2 separate regions of the Homo sapiens genome follow, and region 2 is linked to region 1. Evidence: promoter capture Hi-C in 16 types of primary human blood cells and fetal thymus (Javierre and others, 2016). All regions are on one chromosome and are shown on one strand. Each heading gives the region's core, a stretch centred on a gene start or on the middle of the fragment in contact. The rest is flanking DNA. Distances are from core to core; before and after follow the strand shown.

The links. The method cuts DNA at HindIII sites, captures the fragments that hold promoters and counts their contacts. A CHiCAGO score of 5 or more calls a contact.
Region 2: a contact is called between a fragment that was not itself captured here and the fragment with the promoter of CCN4 in region 1, in 11 of 17 cell types (activated CD4 T cells, non-activated CD4 T cells, total B cells and 8 more). The highest score is 8.5, in activated CD4 T cells.

What each region holds. Positions count from the first base shown.
Region 1 is chr8:133,189,719-133,196,817 of GRCh38, forward strand. It overlaps CCN4 (cellular communication network factor 4), which reads left to right and starts at 1,321. Exons shown (of 5, transcript NM_003882.4): 1 at 1,321-1,495. The coding sequence starts at 1,427. RefSeq lists a silencer at 2,193-2,440 and an enhancer at 6,310-6,809. The HindIII fragment of the contact is 13,274 bases long and covers 1-7,099 here.
Region 2 is chr8:132,919,705-132,926,858 of GRCh38, forward strand. TG (thyroglobulin) reads left to right here. Exons shown (of 48, transcript NM_003235.5): 22 at 3,634-3,804. Among named protein-coding and RNA genes, the nearest start is that of TG, 56 kb to the left of the region's middle. The HindIII fragment of the contact is 702 bases long and covers 2,644-3,345 here.

The DNA.
Region 1 (7,099 bases), core at 71-2,570:
TGGCCCAGGGGCCACGCCAGGACTGGGGACTCTGTGCTGTGTGATGGGCAGGCTTTGGACAGTTGTATCCAGAAGATGATCTATACATGACGCTAGTTCAAGGATTGCTCTGAGATGTGTGGATGGTAGAAGGTGGGCAGGGAGGCTGGGTATCAGTCAGGAGGCTGTGGCAGCGGTCCCCATGGGGAGCACAGGGCTGGACTAGGACAGCCCATAGAAGACATCCCATCTCCTTTCTTGCCCAAGGAAGAGACTCAGTGGCAGCAGTGCAATAAGGGTACAGGCCAGGAAACCCAACCCCCCAGGGATAGCAAGCATCCAGAGACACGTGGGGACAGCTCCAGCACCAAACGGCTTCTGACCAATGAGCAGAGACGGCAAACAGCAAATGCGTTACCGTGGCTTTCACGTGTCATGAAGGTGATGCTGTAACCTGAGCCTCAGAGCTCATTTTATTTGTGAATTCCTATCATCTCTAGATGGGTGGACTGAAAGCCACCTCTTTCGCTTGCAGCTAGGTAGAGGGGAGTGCAAGAGGGCAAATGAAAACCAGAAGTAGGGTTGGGCGCAATGCCTCACGCCTGTAATCCCAGCACTTTGGGAGGCTGATGTGGGCGGATTACCTGAGGTCAGGAGTTTGAGACCAGCCTGGCCAACATGGTGAAACCTCGTCTCTACTAAAAATACAAAAATCAGCTGGGTGTGGTGGCACATGCCTGTAATCTCAGCTATTCAGGAGGCTGAGGCAGGAGAATTGCTTGAGCCTGGGAGACAGAGGTTGCAGTGAGCAGAGATCGCGCCACTGCACTCCAGCCTGGCCGACAGAGCGAGACTCTGTCTCAAAAAAAAAAAAAAAAAAAAAAAAAAAGAAAAGAAAAGAAAAAGAAAAAGAAAAGGAAAAAGAAAACCAGAAGTAGGAGCAGCCTGAAGAAATGACAGGGAGTTGATTTCCCACTGGGAGCCCTCTCAAAGCCCACACACCCGCCTGCCTGGGGTAACAGTATCTCCTCGGACATCCTGCACCCTCCCATGCTCCCCCCTCCCTACAGTAGTGAAAGACCTAGGCAGGATGACCCCAGCTCCTCTGTGAGAATTTCACACCCTAGTGTGAAGTCATAGCCTTGTAACTTTCCCTTTAAGAACTGTCAGAGCTGGGGAGGCTGGCCAAGCTCAGGCTGGAGGTGGGGACAGAGGGAAGAAAGAAAAAAAAAAAAGAGAGAGAGGCAGGAAAAGTTTTTTCAGAGGAAAATGCAGGGTTTGTCCTTCACCCTGACGTCAGATCTTGCTTTAATAAAACCCCCCAAGGGCTGCGGAAGAGGCATATCTGGTGCTCCTGATGGGCCGGCCAGTCTGGGCCCAGCTCCCCCGAGAGGTGGTCGGATCCTCTGGGCTGCTCGGTCGATGCCTGTGCCACTGACGTCCAGGCATGAGGTGGTTCCTGCCCTGGACGCTGGCAGCAGTGACAGCAGCAGCCGCCAGCACCGTCCTGGCCACGGTGAGTCCTGCCTGGAGGGGCTCAGAGGGAGACCCAGCTCCCTTCTCTACTGGGTCCTGCTACATGGGGGCTGGTGGGCAGGATGAAAAGGGCCAGGAAGGTTTGGGGCTGGAAGGTGGCCACTTACAGGGCAAGGACAGAGCCCAGGGTGAGGAGTCAGCTGCCCAGGTTGGCTGAAGCTGGCAGGGTGAGGAGGACGGTGCGACACTTGGGGAAACAAACTGCACAGGTCCAGCCTGCCCTCTCTCCCCACCTGAAACAGTGCAGAAAGAACGGGGCCCTCAGCAGAACTGGGAGTCAGGGGCCCGGGCTCCAGACCCGTCTTCGCCTAACCTGGCTGTGTGGCCTCGGGTGGGTCACTCACCCTCCAGGAGCAGCGTAAAGCGACGAAGTTGTTAGGTGACTTCTAGAGTCTCTGAGTTTGAAAACTCCAAGACTCCAAGCATTGGAGATGCTGCGAAGATGGGAGATGGAAAAAGCCAAAAAAAATTGGAAAGAAAAATGCCAGCTTTCAACAAAAGCTCCTTATTGAGCAAACAGTGCTCAGGGTGATGTCTAACCCCAACTGCTGTCACCTCCGGTCTGCACAGCCCTCTGCAGTCTGCAGAGTGTCCATACTTGGGTCCTGCCTATGAAGCCTGCTGTTCCAGGGTGGGGGTGATGTGGGCACCCCAGAGTCTCTCTCTCTTCCACCTGCACCCCAGGGTACACCAAGGGGAAGGGACAAAGGTCTGCACCTCCAAAAGCCAGGGGAGTCACATATGTGACCGTGTAGAGCCAGCCTGCTAGGGCCAGGCATGGTGAGGAAAAGGCAGAGGCAGGCAGTGCAAGGAGGGCAGGAGGTGGGTACCTGGCAGCTTCTGAGCCCCAGATTCCACAGCCCAGGGCAGGACCTGCTCCTGGCAGAACAGCCTAGAGACGGAGGGGTGATGGCAAAAGAGTGTTTATCCCCAAATGACACTGATGGCTTCCTTGGGGGTTAAGAAGCCCCCTTCACAGATAAGGAAACCGTGTGTTGGGGTTAAACCACTTGCCAGAATCAGACTCTAGGTCTGCTTCAGCCAGAACTGAGGCCGAGAGCCGACAGCAAACTGAGACCTGGGAAATAGGAATTCCTCTCAATGCCTCGGTGTGTGTAATGATGGCGGGGAGTGGGTCTGTTTCATCTTGGTTAAATCCTCACGCCTGGCATGGTGCCTGACTATAGTTGGTTCAGAACCACCTTACCAGAAAGTTATCAGCTCCATTTCACAAATGAAAGAAATGGAAAGTGAGAGCAAGTAAAGGACTTGCCCAGGAGCTCCTCATTAATAAGTGGCCAGGGCCCAAACTTAGATCTTCTGATGCCAATTTCTAACCATTCCTACTTAGGGGAAGCTGACTGTGTCCTACAGGAGTGCCCAGAAGGAGCTAAGTCGCTGTTTATTTCGGCTCTGGGTATGGCTGCGCCTTTATTTGGGTATAGCTTTGCAGGTTGCTATGTCTGGGAGGGCAGGGAGAGGATGGAGAAAAGGTGAGCGTTTGAGAGAAGCCAAAGTCTGAGTGGGCAGAGGAGGCGAGAGGTTTAAGCATGAGTCCAAGTACTCTGGAGCCCCAGTCAGCTCCCAGAACAGCCGGTGCTGAGGAGGAGTGAAGGACAGAGCCGAGGACTCAGCCAGAGGAGACCAGCAAAGGAGCAGAGCGTGTGGAGGGACCCAGGGAGCAGGTTGGAGGGAAGGCTCCCGGGACCAGCACAAGGTACCTCTCTTCTAGGCAGCCCCTGCCTGGGGAACCCAGACCACCCACCCCATGCTTGTTTCATGATTTAGATGCTTCTGGGACAGAGGTGTGCACGGCACTGGAGTTCTCAGGATGTCCTGAAAGCCCCGCCCCCTGTGTGGGCTGTGAGACTGATAGAAACGAGCTGGACTCCATTTGGAAACCAGCCTTGTTTCATAGCCAAATTCCATACATGGTCATCCTCCCGAATTAATATGCAAAGGGAGCACATGTCCAACCAGGGTCTCAGTGAGATCTTAATGGAAAAAATTGTTGTAAATGTTCATATTGAAGAAAATGCATGTGAGAATTGCCAAGAAAACTTTGAGGAAGTAGAGTTACAAGGGGGACTTCTCTGGGAGATATGAAAGCACTCTGTAAAGATTCTGCAGTGGAAGGAGGAAGATGGCAGCCCAGAAGGAGATCAGCCAAGGAGGAAGGCACTGGAGTGATCTCAGGAACAGCCGAGTGTATTTGGGAATTTAATCTGTGCTAAAGGTGTATTGCAAATATGACTTATGCTTTCATCTCTTTATTCTTTTCTTCTGCATTTGTTGAGCATGTCCGCCATGTGCTAAGAGAAAGGGACTCCATTTAATGTGCATTAGCAAGCACTGAGCCAACACATGTATAAGACCAACCTCAGTTCACCCAACAAACATTTATTAGGCACATTCTACAATTCCCATAACAATATTATTTAGCAAGTGCAATTATCCTCCTTAACAGATATGAAAACTGAGACTCGGAGAGGTTAAGTAATTTGTCAAAGGTCACACAGCTGGTAATCAGGGAAGCTGACATTTGAACCTTGGTCCAGCTCTTGGTAATGTAGCCTCCTGCCTCCCTGGTCCAAGGGCAGAAACCAGGGGCATGTAGTCCCTGCCCGACAGAGTTTACTGGCTAGTGGGGCAGGTGACAGGGGTAACGTCAGCCAGAGTAGAGGGGCTGGAATCAGGCTCTGCCACTGGCTGTGTCGGCCGCACTAAGTCCCGTTGCACCTCAGACCTCACTTTCCTCGTTTGTTAATTGGGACTAACTGTCTCACCACACCAAGCTCCCTGCTGCTGAACGTGAAAATGTGCCTGAGGAAAACCTCTCAGAAGTGTGTAATTCAGCAAACGAAAGCTGAGTGATAAAATCCTGGGCAAGCATTAGGCCTGTGGTGGTCTATGTATAGGTCTACAGGTAAAACCCACATCCTCCCTCCTGTATCAGTGCATGTGGGATGTGCATAGCTGCACTGTGTGTGTGTGGGGTGGGGTGTGTTTGTGAGAGGGTGTGTGGGGGTATGCGTATGGTGTGTATGTGGGGTGTGTCTGGTGTGTGTGTGTGGTGTGTGTGTGTATGTGTGTGCCTGTGTGGTGTGTGTGGGGGGGTGGTGGTGTGTGGGGGTGTGTGTGTGGGGTGTGTGTGTGGTGTGTGGGGGTGTGTGTGGATTTGTGTGGTGTGTGTGTGGTATGTGTGTGTGGTGTGTGTGTGGTATGTGTGTGGGGTGTGTGTGTGTGTGGTGGGGGGTGTGGTGTGTGTGGAACATGAGTGTGGTGTGTGTGGGGGTGTGTGTGGTGTGTATGTGGTGTGTGTGGGGGGGTGGTGGTATGGAGGGGTGTGTGGGGTGTGTGGGGTGTGTGTGTGTGGGTTTGTGTAGTGTGTGTGGGGTGTGTGGGGTGTGTGCGTGTGTGCGTGTGTGGTGGGGGATGTGGTGTGTGTGTGGTGTGTGTGTGGAGGGTGTGTGTGGTGTGTGTGGGGATGTGTGTAGTGTGTGTGTGGTGTGTTTGTGGGGTATGTGCCTGGGGTGTGTGGGGGGGATGTGTGGTGTGTGTGTGTGGTGTTTATTGTGTGTGGTGTGTGTGGTACGTGTGTGTGTGGTGTGTGGTGTGTGTGTTGAGTGTGTTTGTGGTGTGTTTTTGTGTGTGTATGTGTGTGGTGTGTGTACTGAGTGTGTATATGGTGTGTTTGTGTGTGTGGTGTGTGTGTGGTGTCTGTGTATGTGTGTGGTGTGTGTGTTGAGTGTGTATGTGGTTTGTGTGTGTGTTGTGTGTGTGGTGTGTGGTATGCGTGTGTATGCATGGTGTGTATGTGTGTGGTGTGTATTATGTATGTAGTGTGCTTGTGTGTGTGTGGTGTGCGTGGTGCTTGTGCATGGTGTGTGTATGGTGTGAGCATGTTTGTGGTGTGTGTGTGTTGAGTGTGTATGTGGTGTGTTTGTGTATGTGGTGTGTGTGTGGTGTGTGTATGGTGTGTGTATGTGTGTGGTGTGTGTCTGTTGAGTGTATATGTGGTGTGTTTTTGTAGTGTGTGGGTGGTGTGTGTGTGTTGAGTGTGTATGTGTTGTGTTTGCGTGTGTGGTGTGTGTGTGTGTGAACCTTGTGTTTGGGTGTGAGATACAAACTCATTCTCTGCTTCCAGAAGCAACTGCAGAATAATGTGGGTCAAGTGTATGGCAAAATATCCCCTTTAGAAAACAGAGAATGTGAACAATATGTCTTTTCACACCTCCTGTTTAGAGTTGGAATCTGAGTGAAGATTTCAAACCCCATCCAGGCCCCACACCCCCAACTCCCCACCCAGAGCCTCTTTGGGCTCCCTGAAGCCCCTGCTGCCAGCTCAGGGCCCCTCCAGCCGACAGCTTATCTTGGAGGCTGGCACGAGGACGGCACTGAAAGGCATTTCCCCCTCGGCATGGCATTTGGAGAAGGAGTGGGCACGGGAACAGGCCTCCGCCCAACCAGCTCCTTGAGAGACAAAACGCTACCTTGTGGGCTGAGCAGCACTCCTGGCTCCACAGCAAGCCCCACCAACCACCCCCAGGTTTTAGAAAAGGCTCCGGCCCTGTGCCAGCAAAGCACCCACATGCCAGGAGGCTGCCCTTGGCTTTGTATAAACAGCAACCCAGGGATCTTCCCAGGAACCTCAGCCATCCTCTGGGCAGCAGGGAGGCAAACTCCAAGGGAGGTGGGCTCTGATATGGAAGCAAGGGTGGCGAAGCAGCCATGGTCCAGGTGGGTTCCTGGGAGGGGCTGAGAAGGGTGCCAACCACAACCAGGAAGCAAAGCGAGCCAGCAAGGGTCACCGTGGAGGTTTCAAAGCAAGGCTTCAGCACAGCTGTCCCCTCATTCAAGGACACTGTGGTGGGCCCTGCATCCCTGTGATGTGGATGGTGGCAAGGGTTCACACTGAGCATGTGCCCACTCTACTCTGGGCACAGTGCCCTTTTGCACACACCTATGAGGCAGCGGTGTTGCTGTAATCTAGACCAGCCAGTCAGTAGCCACGTGTGGCAGGAGGCCACTCAGCACTTGAAATGAGGCTGGTCCCAGCTGAGATGTTCCGGAAGCATAAGATACACCATTGATTCCAGAGACATGGTATGAATGTGAGAGCGCAATATTCCCATTAATAATTTTTATATTAACTCCATATTGAGATGATAATATTTTGAATATACTGGGTTAAACACAATCTATTATTCCACTAAACTTCATCTGTTTCGTATTACTTTTTAATACCGCTACTAGAAAATGTAAAATTTCATCTATGGCTCTTATTGTATTTTACTAGATGGTGTCGGCCTAGAAAGACACAAGTGTGCCTAAGGCTATGATAACAGGTAGGGAGGGAGAAATGCCAAGGGTTCTAATCCCAGTGTCTCCACTTACAGGCTTTGTGCCCTCAGGTAAGTAGCCCAGCTTTTCTGAGCCAGGATCATCTCTGTATAAAGGAATATATTAACATTAGTACTATTGGCTTGTTAAGGGTGTTGAATGGGGAATGAAGCAGAGACAAAGCCCACAAGGCCCCAGAACACCCAAGGGAAGGATTCTATTGTTCCAATAGCAGGGCAGG
Region 2 (7,154 bases), core at 1,745-4,244, 270 kb before region 1:
CCCTAAGTTGTGACAGCCAAACATGTCTCCAGACATTGCCAAATGTCTCTTGGGTGGAAATGGCAGGGAGAGCAAAATTGCCTACCTGTGAGAACTATTGGGTACACAACATAATAATCAAAGGGGCCGCCATCTTTGAATACTTACCTACTGCTAGGCCCTGGGCCAGGCATTTTACCTGTGTTGCCTCATTCAGTGCTCCCAATACCTCTTCCAATATTAGTAGCCCAGCTTTTACAGATAAGAAAGCTAAGACTCCAAGAAAAGAAAGTTAGTCAAAGTCACTCAGCTAATGGATGATGTAACTGGTCTTTGATCTTGGTTTTATCTGATTCTGAAACTTCTGATTTTTGTAAGTCAACCTTATCAGATTGAAAAATGGAAGATATTTTCCACCTATAGTCATTACTGCTATGTAGCTCATCTTCCTTCTCTGCTGCATGAATTTGCCAGGACTGTATGTATGGGTGGCCTTCCCATATGTCACGTGATTTCACTCGACCTACTTACTTAATAGTCCCCTGGGTATTGTTGGGTTTTTTTCCTAGCAAGGACCCATAACTTGCCTTGTTGTGCATCTCTTCTTGTTAGTCTGAAACTGTGTCAATGTGAAGGAAACTGTTGTGCTTACAATCCAAATAATTTCTAGAATTTTTAAAACAAGTCATCAGAAAAGATCAAGATACTTTCTTTGCTCAGGGCAGTTTCCTGGTCAGGAAAGCAGTAATAATAGAACAGTAATTCCAATAAAATAAAAGTAAAAGGAATTTTATAGGCTGAGAGTCTGGCATTCTTCCTGGAGAATAAACTCTTCACTGGGAAAATAGAGTGTCCTTGACATCTGGGCATCACCCTCAGTTTGTACACAATGACTTGAGTACTTGTAGTTTGAGATGACTTGAAGTGCTATCAAAATACCAGAGAAGCACTTTCTTAAAAGAAGATTAATGTAGTGTGCTGAGCCTTGTTTATGGAGGGGATATGACAGAAATGGCAGGAATAGAGGACACAGGTTGAGGCTTGCACCAGCCAGACCAGGTTTGATCACCACTCTCCCTTCTTACTGGCACTGTGACCTAGACAAAGCTACCTTCCTCTTCTGAATGTCAGCTCCCTCCTGTATTGGGTGGAGCCAATGATAACTCACTCACAGGGTGGTAATAAAGGGTGTCTTAGGTCAGGCTGCTATTGCAAATTACCATACACTGGGTTGCCTAAGCAACACATTTGTTTCACACAGTTCTACAGGCTGGAAGTCTGAGGTCAGTGTGCCCACATGATTGGGTTCTTGTTGAAGGCTCTCTTTCTGTTTATGTCCTCACATGGTCTTTGCTTAGTACCTACACAGAGAAAAAGAGAGAAAAATCTCCTGTCCTTCTCTTTCTAATAAGGGCATTAACAACATCGTGGGGGCTGCACCCTCATGGCCTCAGTTAAACCTAGTTACTTTCTAAAGGCCTCACCTCCAAATACCATCACACTGGGGATTAGAGCTTCCATATATAAGTTTGGTAAGGGAGGGACACAAACAATCAGTCTGTAGCAAAGTGGAATCAAAATGTTTAGCATAAACAATAAGCATTTATTCCCCACCCATTTTGGGGGTGAGCATTGATTGCATTTTCATGCAGTAGTAGAGAGCTGTATTGAATCATTGCCATTCTCCCAAACATCTTCCCTGAGCAGTGAAAGAGATTTTAGTGAATGGTTCTCTAGGATCAAGGTTGGAGTCTGTGCTAAGGATCTGTTCATACCTAAGAAACTTCTCTATGACTCATTAACCCGCATTGAATTACCAGGCCTGTGTTCTTAGATGGAATTGTACTGAAGAGAAGCACAGGGCAGAAGAGTCTGCCAAGTTTTAAATAATGCCAGATTACAATATTTCTTTGATTTCCTTTTGGTGTTAGGTTAGCTTTTAGAATCCCAACTCCTCTATATAGTTCAGGTCTCTATTATTGATCTTGCTTATACTTTTCTCCTACATTTTATAACTTAGCTGGTTCACTGGACCATGTTTGAGGTTCTGCTGATAACTCTTCAGCAGAAGTAGCTCTTCATTTACTTGTTTGTTTATTGATGTATTAACTCATGTATAGCATGCAGGACATGCAAAGTATTCTATTTAAAAATAGCCTTTGTAACCTCCCACAAAAAAGTTCTTATTAATCAATGGTGAATCACATAACCAATAGTCTGGAAATATAGAAACTCAGATGTTATGAAATCTCTGGGCTGCCATAAAATATTATCTTTCACCTACTTCCCAGACCTGGAGAACCAAATGAAGGCATTCCCTTTTAATATCATTCATCCAAAATTTATTGAGTACCTGCTTTCTGCCAACTGTATAGTGGGTATATATTAAATAAAACAAGTAATGATAAAGTCCCTGTCCTCAAGGAGTTTAGAGTCTGACAGAGAAAAGAAACGTGTGAGCATATCCATGTGATGTAATGAATAGTATAATGGAGGTACATATTAGATACTGTTATAGCAGCTTGTGAGAGGTCTTGAAGGACAAGGGGACATTAGCTAGGGGGCCCGGTGGAGAAAGGCCTTCTAGGAAGAAGAAACAGCTTGAACATGGATATAGAGGTATTCATCCATGGATTTGACTAGCATTTATTGATTTTGGACAGAAGCTTGTTTTGTGGGTCAGACACTGAGCAAGGCATTTGGATACAATAATGAGCAAAACCATACCTGGTCTGTGCCTTTCTGGAACGTCTATCGAGTGGGAGGCAGGCAGTCATCAATCGTTCATTCACACAGGAAAATGGGAATTGTAACAGTGTGCCCTGCTGTGAAGGAGAGGTGTGGGTCCCTGGGATAGTGTGTAACATTTGGGCCTGACTGGGCTGGGACGTCCAGAGATGTCTTAGTCCATTTGGGCTGCTATAAGAAAATACCATAAACTGGGTGGCTTATAAACAGCAGAAATTTATTTCTCACAGTTCTGGAGACTGGGAAGTCCAAGATCAAGTTGTCAGCAGATTTGGTGTCTGATAAAGGTATCACAGATGGCGCCTTCTCACTGTGCCCTCACATGCTGGGAGGAACAAATGAGCCCCCTTGGGCCTCTTTTAAAGGGTACAAATCTCATTCATGAGTGTTCCACTCTCATGATCTAGTCACCTCCCAAAGGCACCACCTGCTAATACCGTCACACTGGGCACTGGGTTTCCACATGTGAATTTTGGCAGGTGGCACCCATAGATTTAGACCATAGTAGGAAGGCTTTCCTGAGACAATGAGAATTGGGATGAAAACAGGTGAGTGGTGGAGAGTTCGCGCAGCAAAGACTGGGGGAGCTGTGGGCCAGAAGAGGGCCCAGATGAGTAAAGCTTGTGTTGGAGCAAATGGTATCAGAGAGATTGGTGTATTCAGGGCATGGAATGAAGCAGGTGGTGTGTGAAGCATGGGGTATGTGTGCAGAACTTAGGGTGGGTGGCGGCCAAATCACAGGGGCCTTATTGATCAGAACAGTGGGAACACTGAAGAGTTTTAAGCTGGAATGTCTGAGTTAGATGTGTGACTTGGACACCTTGTCAATGACCGAGAGCCTGGGAGTAGGAGTCAGGGGATTCCAGAGGCCCATTATTGACGGCTATGTCAATCTATTGGTTCTAGGTGTCACTGACTGTCAGAGGAACGAAGCAGGCCTGCAATGTGACCAGAATGGCCAGTATCGAGCCAGCCAGAAGGACAGGGGCAGTGGGAAGGCCTTCTGTGTGGACGGCGAGGGGCGGAGGCTGCCATGGTGGGAAACAGAGGCCCCTCTTGAGGACTCACAGTGTTTGAGTAGGTGCTGGGGGTGAAATCAGTCATGGTTCCTGGGGACTGGGGAGTAGTCTCAAGGGCTTTTTAGAAAGGGAGAGAAGCTGGAGGTGCATTTGTCTCCAACTTTTTGTTTTGAAAAATTTTAATCTGTGTAGAAGTTGGAAGAACCGCAAAATGAACAAATACCCATCACCTAGATCCAAAAATTGTTAACATTTCACTCTCTCTTTTTTGGAATCATTTGGTATGTAAATTCCAGATATCAGGAACCCTTACTTCTAAGTACTTCAGCATGCACAAGAGATGAATTTTTATATTAAAAGATCTGTGGAGGCCTCCATTCTTCTAGGCAGCTTGACTTCACTAATCTAGTCAGCATTTCTTCCTCAGTAGGACGTTGTAGAGCAGCAGTCCCCAACCTTTTTGGCATCAAGGATCAGTTTCATGGGAGACAATTTTTCCACAGACCAGAGGTGGCAGGGTGGGGATGGTTTCAGGATGATTCAAACACATTGCATCTATTGTGCATTTTATTTCTATTATTATTGCATTGTAATATATAATGAAATAATTATACAACTCACCATAACGTAGAATCAGTGGGAGCCCTGAGCTTTTTTCCCTGCAACTAGATGGTCCCATTTGGGGGTGATGGGAGACAGTGGCAGATCATCAGGCATTAGATTCTCAAAGGAGCATGCAACCTAGATCCCTCACATGCACAGTTCACTATAGGGTTTGCTCTCCTGTGAGAATCTAATGCTGCCACTGATCTGACAGGAGGCGGAGCTCAGGCAGTAATGCTCACTCTCCCAATGCTCACCTCCTGCTGCGTGGCCCAGTTCCTAACAGGCCATGGACTGGTACCAGTCTATGGCCCAGGGGTTGGGGACTTCTGTTGTAGAAGACTTGTGTGCCAGGCCTTGTTCCATATCTTAATTGCTGGGTGATCTAGAGCAAGTTGCTCAATCCCTCTGATCCTCAGTCTCCCCAGTGGCTTTCAGTCTATTTCCTGAGAATCAACATGAACCTATAAAGTCAACAAATACGTATTGAGCTCTACCCTGTACCACGTACAGTTCCTCAGTGAGATACTGGATGGGAAAGTCCCAGGTAAACCATCAGATATGCTACAATATATAGTGTGATGGGAACCAGAGGAACAGAAGAGAAGAGTATGTCCTGTGGGATCAGAAGTAGTTTAATCCCAGTGGTGCCTTTACTGGCTGTGTAGTCTTAAGCAAGTCACTCACCCTCAGCAGTTTCTTCGTCTGTAAAATGGAGACATCAGTTTCCCCCGTTGTAAGAGTGTTGAGTGCCTTAGCAATGGCATTACCTACCAGCGGTAGTAAATGTCTCAGAATAAGAAGGCTCAGAAACAGTATTTGCCCTGTTTCCCCATCTGTTAAACTTGGAGGGAGGCTGAAACAGTCTGCAAGGTCCCTTAATCCTGATATCTTCTCAATCTTTATGACTCTGTTCCACCTTTCCCTGGAGCCACCTGCCTCTGCTTGAGGTCTTGTGGCTAACCTTTGCACATTTGACAAGCCCAAGCAAGCCAGTCTCTTAGTATTTCTGTGGAAGGAGAGGGCCTAACATACATGGGCTTACTGTGTGCCAGGTGTTTTATGTGTTTATCAAATTTGAATCCATGGTAGTCCTAAAAGGTAGATATTATTGCCAATATTTTAGCTGAGGAAACTGAGGCAAAGAATGTCCAAGCACTTCTCTTGGTTCCATAGTTAGGATAGAATATACCTAGAATTTGAATTGGTGTATGTCAAACCACCAAACCTTTGTATTCTTCATTCTACCAATCTGTTTCCACCTAGATTTACCTGCTTCCTCAATAAACATATCCTCACATACACACACATATGCATGCATAGCCTACCTGTCCTCCAGGGAAGCTGGTACAGCTCATGGGATAAAACATTAGTGAAAATCCAAGTGAGAAATTTTCATTTTCTAATTCTCAGAGCAATCATTTCCCTTCTCTAGTGAAGTGCTAACAAGTCCTAAGGAGTGCGTGTGTGTGTGTGTGTGTGTGTGTGTGTGTGTGTGTTCTTGAATAAATTGCAAATCCAATGAAAGTCTTATTTTTTTCCCAACATCCCTCTTCTTGGGCAGAAAAAAACAGGGGAAGTACAGCAGGAAAGTGCTTTGAGAGATCAGTTAGCCAGATGCTTCACAAATGAAGGAGACTGTGTCTTTACAGAATACAACTTGCCCTGCGGCCCTGGTGATCACCATCAGTCCTGGGATTATTGTCTTACGTGCTCTGAGCTCTCTTTGCATCTCTGTCAATGGGTTGGCCTTGAGGATTGTCTTATGCAGTTTGTAGGGCATTTCATGGTGTATTCTGCCCAGTGTTCAGGGCAGAAAGAACAGTTTAAACAGTGGCACCAGAAGTGCTCACGAGTCACAGCTGAGCTTTGACAACTTTGATGATGCCTCCCTGAGGCGCTGGCTTCTGAATAGCCTCCAGATAGAGCTTCAGCATCTTTGGCTTCTTATGCAAAGCTCTGAGCTTAAGTTTCCCTTTCTGGATATGCCTGGGGATTTCTATGCCACTAAGCTGGGCCCTCACTGGGATGTCAACACATCTCTTCTCAGAATTGCCTTTGAGAGGAACTTTCTCTTCGGGAGTAAAATGTTTAAGGCTTTTGTCCTTCAGGCTAGGTCCTTAAGCAAGGGACTTATACCTCCCCAGACAGGTACCTACCTGAGAGGAATTTGCTCCTTCCTCAGCCCTCTTGCCACTTCCTTTGTTCAGGCTTCTGCTGTTACCTACATGGTACTGCCATACCTGCCTAACTCATCTTCTTGCTTCAGTCCAACAGTTTTTCTATGATGCTTCTAGAGCTGTTATTTAAAAGGAGATTCTGCCTATGCAATGCCCCTTAAATCTCTTCAGTGGTTCTTCATTGCTCTTGGGATAAAGCACCATTTGCAGTATCCCAGCCTCCCCTCTGGGCTCTAACCTCATTAGACCATATGTTCCTTTGGGGCTAGAATTGTATCTTATTTCTTATTCTATTCCAGGGCCATAGGTACTCTTTGACAGAATGAATAAATTTCTCTAGTTGTCTGGGATTCTTTGAAACTATTTCCTAAAGGTCTTCAGGGAAGGAGATTCTTCCACCACCTCAATTCCTGTGGTCAATTTTACAAGCCCTGAGACTTAGGAAAGGTGTTCTGCAGGGGACAGAGGGACTTAGCACTTACTGAGTGGTTACCATATACCATATACCATTCCATGCTATATTATTTAGTCCTCACAACCAGAAAACTGAAACTCTCAGAGGTTGCAAGGTGTCCAAGGACACAGAGCTGGTGGTGGCATCAGGACTCGAGCTGAGGGCTCACTC